2 separate regions of the Homo sapiens genome follow, and region 1 is linked to region 2. The links are contacts of gene promoters, found by promoter capture Hi-C in blood cells and fetal thymus (Javierre and others, 2016). All regions are on one chromosome and are shown on one strand. Each heading gives the region's core, a stretch centred on a gene start or on the middle of the fragment in contact. The rest is flanking DNA. Distances are from core to core; before and after follow the strand shown. Region 1 holds the start of TXNDC9 (thioredoxin domain containing 9). Region 2 holds the start of ITPRIPL1 (ITPRIP like 1).

Region 1 (3,034 bases), core at 156-2,655, 3.0 Mb before region 2:
GGCCCGCTCCGCACACTCTGGGCCCAGGCCTGGTACCCCGCGAAGCTCATCGCGAGCCCAGACCCCGGTCCGACGCCGCGCCCGGCGAGACCCGCACACTCCACTGAGCCACGGCGGCCGCCGCCGTACGGACCCAACCCCTATCTACCTGTCTTCGCTCTTGTTTTTCTGTTTCTTCCCCATTGCTTGTCAATGGCGCTCGTGGCCCCAGCCCCTCTATTCGGTCTCTCACAGACCCACTGTCTCCCGGCTGACTTTGGTCTCCGCTCAGCTCTTTTCCCCTCGTGCTGCCGCCGCTCGCACCCGGCTCTCCACAGACCCGCGCACTGGAACAGGACACATATGGTGTGAGTTCTCAGTGCGCAAGCGCATCGCCCAGCCGCCTCGGCGTGAGGACGCAGGGCGCGGCTCATCGAGAGCTGCGCTTCGGGTAGAGCGTCTCCGGTTGACCGGCCGACCAGGCAGCAGCCCGAGCGCCCCCTGCCCTCAAGCGTCCGCCACGAGCCGACACCCGCGGGTTTTCCACGTTCTAGAACCCGGAGGTGGACAATGAAGCTGTCAATTTCGCCACCTCACCCCTCTCCCAACGGGGAACGCACGCTTCGGTTCAGGAGTGGGCTTTGGGCTTCCCTTTATATCTTTGTATTCTCAGCCGCACGAAGTTCAGTAAAGAACCACAACGAACCAATAGAGTCCTCTGGGGGTTTGCGAGAGAGATAAATTCAGGACAAAATAGGGACCTCTCAGTAACATCCATGCATTATGCATTATGTACAGTCACTGAATAAAACAGAACAGGACACAGCCGATCAATTCCCTAACATAGGTCTTCAGCTTCACCCTCAAAGCGAGGGCGAGTTCTAAAAATTCCTGTGTTTCGAAGAGTCAAGAGGGGACCTACAGGGGTGGTGGAAAATGTTCTATATCTGGATCTGGCCGGTGATATTTTGGGTTTTAACTATGCAAAAGTTAATTGTGCTGTATATGTTTATGCCTCGACTTTAGGAAAAATGTTAACAAAAGAAAACAAAAAAAAGAAAAATGTTCATTCAACACTAACAGAATGGAAACGCAGTTCAAGCGTCACGGCTGAGCGAGAGCACAGCTGTCTCATTTCCAGTCTGGCGCACTGGACCGTGAATACTGAAGCACGCTCCTGAGAAAGTCCGGCCACGACAGCCTGCGCACTAAGAAACTGCAACTCCCACAATGCTTTGCGGCCTTCCAGTTCGGCCGTGTACCCGGAGGAAAGCAAGGGTCGGACACCTTGGGTTCCGGGCTGCTGGGCGGGAGGCGCACGCGCAGAACTGTTCGCCACCCGACCGCCCGCCCCTTCCTCTGGCGTCCAAGGTGATATCGCGCGAGGTTCGCAGCCAATAAGGAGGCGGATGTGACGGCCCGTTTGCAGCCGCCGGCAGCTACTGCAAGGCAAAAGCCGGAGTGGACGTGTCTTTTGAAACTGCTGCTCTTTCACTTCTCAGGCGTCACCGAGAGCTCAGGTGAGGCAGAGGGTAGTGAGAAGAATCCGACCACCACGTCCGGGTGCTGGTGAACATTCTGCTGCTCCACATCCGGAGCGGAGGAGGGGCGCGGCCCCAGCACCGGTGTCGGTGTCCTGGCAGAGGCTCTTGCGCAAGCGCACCAGGAGGCGTCGAAGTTGGGGCCACCGGGACTGTGCTTTCCTCTGTTTCCCCGGGCGCAGGGAGTGGCCGGCTTGCCATTGGGGAGGTACCTGGGGTTCAGTTAAGGACCAGGCCCCTTGATTGTTTTGGCGGATACCTGTAAGGGTGTCCAGGAAATGACTAGGGAATTTGAGGACGCGCTGTGTCCCGTCCCACCCTTCCAGCGGAGCTGTAAAAAGGAAGAATCAGAGGCTGTGGTTTGAAAAATGAAAAGCTAACGAGGGGTTGCATCGTCTCTTTACCCCATTCTCAATGCTCTGACCACCAACACCTACACCCAGAATAGCTCTTCTTAATCTCGTCTTTTTCCAGTTATCCCATAATTAAATTCTGGGCTCATTCTATAAAGTTCCAGGGTAGGCATTCTCTGTGCTTATCCCTGGAGCACAGCTTCCAACGTTCAATTCAGTATCTTATTATCTTCTCCTTCCAGCCCCCTCACTGAGGGTCACAGTCCTACTGACATTTTTCTTGGGCGATAGGGAGCGTGGAAATCTTTGCTGTGTTTGAAATACAGCACCTTTCCAATTTTATAGCACTCACGAGGAGCTTACAATTTGGTTTTTTAGACTCAAATACTTTTGAAACTTAACAGTGTAGTAATTTGAACAGAAGTCAGGCACGTGTTCATTCAACGTTAAATACATGTTTATTGAGTACCTGCTGTGTTCTATGGAGATACAAAGATGAAATCAAGTATGCTTTTCAAATCCTTTTCCTGTAAAGAAAAAGGAATCAGAATTGAAGTTTGCAAGAATATTTCTCTTCAGCTCAACGTTTATAGAGGGCCTGTGTGGGTCAGAATCTGTGTCAGAAGCTGAGTGAATGAATTCACAGTTTGTTGTGAAGTTTGGGGTGCTTCAGTATTATTTGCAAATGTATCATAGTTCATTGATATGCAACAGCCTCCTGCTTTGATAGGCAAATTATAAATCATTTCTGCAGTAATAACCCTGAGATACACATAAACTTGCCCTCTAATTGTTGGTATAAAATTTCTCGTACAAAATACTCCATTTCTTTTAAAAGAAGTAAAATTTTGGCCGGGCGCGGCTGGCTCACGCCTGTAATCTCAGCACTTTGGGAGGCCGAGGCGGGCGGATCACGAGGTCAGGAGATCGTAGCCATCCTGGCTAACACGGTGAAACCCCGTCTGTACTAAAAATACAAAAAGAAATTAGCCGGGCGTGGTGGCGGGCGCCTGTAGTCCCGGCTACTCGGGAGGCTGAGGCAGGAGAATGGCGTGAACCCAGGAGGCGGAGCTAGCAGTGAGCGGAGATGCGCCACTGCACTCCAGCCTGGGCGACAGAGCGAGACTCCGTCTCAAAAAAAAAAGTAAAATTTTGTACTAA
Region 2 (3,024 bases), core at 225-2,724:
GCGCATCTCCTCACTCATTCGCTTCTCCAGCTGCCGACTCCTGGCTAATGTGTCCAGGTCCATCCGATCACTGACCATCAGAGGGTGGTGAACAACATACATCACTGCCAAGAACAGCAGGCTTATCACAGCCATGGAGGCCTCTGCATCTGGAGAAGTAGGAGAGTAGGAGTCAGTGGTCATCTTCCAGACTTATCTGCTCTCTAGCTCACATTCCCCAGAGCCCTGGTACCCCAAATTCTGAAAATCAGCTACTCAGGAGGAACAGAAAGCCCACAGAGCTTGGCTTGGACACAGCAAGGGTGGTCGGCCTGGGAGGAGGTTCGAGAGAAAAGAGGGCGAAAGGATGTGCCACTCAGTCTCTCTCCTGCTTTCCTTCCACATGGTGTGGGTGGTATTTAGGCTTCCAGAAAGTGTACATGGGACTGTTTTCATTCCTGTGTAGGATGGGGAGGGGGACCCTTGTGGTAGGGTGGCCTCACCCGACTCCTCAGTCAACCATGGGCACCAGATATGACCTGCTGATCCCAGAGGCTCCCTTTTATAGCCAGAAAGCCCTGAACCTGCCTGGGTGACACCTTTCCTCTGCCCCGGCAGCCAGTTGTAGCATTCCACTTCCTCTGTGACTTCACAGTCTTCATTCTGCTCACCCAGTATGAAGTGAGCCTCATCACTCAGCCTCTCCCTCTCTGCCCAGGGAGCGCAAGAGAGGCACAGTGCCGCCAGCTGCTTGCTACGGTGCCCTCTCTGCTCCTAAGGGGCTAGTGGATACCCCGTGTGTGGGCAGGCTAGCTTCACTTCTTAGTTCAGAAAACTGTCTGCAGAACCAGGTGCCCAAGGCCTACCTGACAGCCGGCAGTGGTCAGTTCCACTGCCTCCCCACCCACCCGTGAAGCCCGAGCTTCTGCCACTCACCCTAATTCACAAGCTACCGCGCTTACCAACATTCATGAAGGACTATGCCGTGTGGACGCTGAAGCCAGCTGGGCCTATCCTCCCTTTGGAACTTGGCCTTGCTTCGTCTCCCCGCCCTCTCTAGGAGCCCTGTTAAAATGTACAAGGTACCTGGGGGCTTTGGCTCAAATCGGAACCCGACCCTCCCCCCATTCATAACTTCCCCAAATTCCACGCCCAGAGATTTGTACTCTCACCCGCCTATCCGTAGGAGGCCAAGGGCCCATCCTACCTCGGGATGTCTCCCGGGACCCAGGGCCAGGTTACTCACCGTCAGTGTTAGTAGGAACACGATCTTAAAGAGACAGCGCGGCCTGACCGCCACTGCTTTTTTCCCGGCAGGGTGGGGGCGTCCGGTTCATCGCTGGGGCCGCCCGCGGGAGTGGCCCTGCTCCCCTTTCCTGGGTTATAGACCATGCTTGTCCGAGCGTCTGAACGTCTGGCTGAGCGCGGTGGGCCCCTACGACCCCCAGCACGCGGCTCCGAGGGCGCCCGCGCGCCGCAGCCGCTCCCGCCGTCCGGGCTCCTCCCCGCCCACCCAGTACAAGCTCCTCCCCGCCCAAACCCCCGTGGCCCAGCGTGCAGGGGCAGCGGCCTCCCCACACCGGGTCTCTGTCCGCACCGAGGCCCCCGTGGGTTTGCTGGGAGAGTGGAGGGGCCGTGGCCACACACTCTCCGCTGCTCGGCCTCCCTGGGGTGGCAAATGGGGCACCGCCGTGCCTGCTGTCAGCTGCACTCAGCTCAGTTCAGTGGAGAACAGACTTACTAGGATTCGGGTGTAAGGATGATGGTGGCAAAACTAGGAATTGACCGAGAAAAGCCATTCTCACTTCGGGCTGGCCCTGAGCAAAATGGCACACGAAATAAGATGTGGTTTCAGCACCCTAAATGTGCTTCCCTCCCAGCCCACGCCCAGACTCAGGCATCTTTCCCCAACCCCTTTCTCATATCAAAGTGACTCTCATGAAAGAACAGACAGCACCCAAAGACCTTACTTGGGGCCTTGCTTGCTACTCACTGGCCACGTGGGAGTAAGAATCCTACCTACAGGGCAGCTCTGCTGATACATGGGTGTATAAAGGAGAACTTTATACGGTGTGGAGGCTGGACAAGCTTTATCACACCTTAAGAAACACAACAGAATGGGTTTCCTGAAAGGGATCTTCAGATATCAGAAAGAGCCCTTAGTCTTCCTGTCTTGTGTCAGCTATCCAAGAAGAAAAGGAAGTGATGACCCCTTGATACTAACTCACTAAAATCCCTCTGCTGAAAGACAAGTTTCAGGGTTTTTATTTGTTTGTTTGTTTTTGAGAAAGAGTTTCGCTCTGTCACCCAGGCTGGAGTGTAGTGGCACCATCTTGGCTCACTGCAGCCTACCCGCCCCAGGTTCCAGTGATTCTCCTGCCTCAGCCTACTGAGTAGCTGGGACCACAGGTGTATGCCACCATGTCCAGCTAATTTTTGTATTTTTAGTAAAGACGGGGTTTCACCATGTTGGCCATGCTGGTCTCGAACTCCTGACCTCAGGTGATCTGCCCGCCTCGGCCTCCCAAAATGCTGGGATTATATGTGTAAGCCATCACACATGGCTGGGTTTCAGGTCTTCTTATCCAGTGGCAATGTGTAGGGAGCTCCCAAACAACTTGTACAATACTTCCAAGAATACTGACTTATTTAATTGTGGAGCAGGAAAAACTGTCTGCTAGCTGACAATGACTGAAGTTCCAAAGTTACTTTTTATAAATGTGAATTATGAAAAATAGATCACAGGTTATTGAGCATTCATGCATTTGGAGCAGTAATAATGAAAGTCTCTTATCTTTTCACTTATGACATGATGTCAGGATGCAAAATATATGCTTCAGAGTGTGCAAAAACGATAATGTTTAAGACCATGTGTTTTAAAGTTGTATTATTTTAATTAACAAATAATAATTGTACATATTCATAGGGTGCACAGTCATGTTTCATACATACAATGTATAATTTCAGATTAGGGTAATTAGCATATCCATCATCTCAAACATTTATCATTTCTTTGTGTTGGGAAGGTTCAATCCTCCCTCTAGC

The links. Contacts are between HindIII fragments. The CHiCAGO score rates a contact against its expected background, and 5 or more counts as called.
Region 1: the fragment with the promoter of TXNDC9 here is called in contact with the fragment with the promoter of ITPRIPL1 in region 2 in 1 of 17 cell types (neutrophils); the score reaches 5.9 in neutrophils.

The regions. Positions count from the first base shown.
Region 1 is chr2:99,334,704-99,337,737 of GRCh38, reverse strand. TXNDC9 (thioredoxin domain containing 9) reads left to right here and starts at 1,405. Exons shown (of 5, transcript NM_005783.4): 1 at 1,405-1,499. EIF5B (eukaryotic translation initiation factor 5B) reads right to left here and starts at 349. Exons shown (of 24, transcript NM_015904.4): 1 at 149-349. The coding sequence starts at 183. RefSeq lists a silencer at 1-80 and enhancers at 151-260, 1-468, 481-590, 611-690, 701-750 and 4 more. The HindIII fragment of the contact is 22,802 bases long and covers 1-3,034 here.
Region 2 is chr2:96,323,767-96,326,790 of GRCh38, reverse strand. It overlaps ITPRIPL1 (ITPRIP like 1), which reads right to left and starts at 1,474. Exons shown (of 3, transcript NM_001008949.3): 1 at 1,226-1,474; 2 at 942-1,044; 3 at 1-149. The coding sequence starts at 951. RefSeq lists an enhancer at 787-1,287 and a silencer at 1,310-1,559. The HindIII fragment of the contact is 6,653 bases long and covers 1-2,069 here.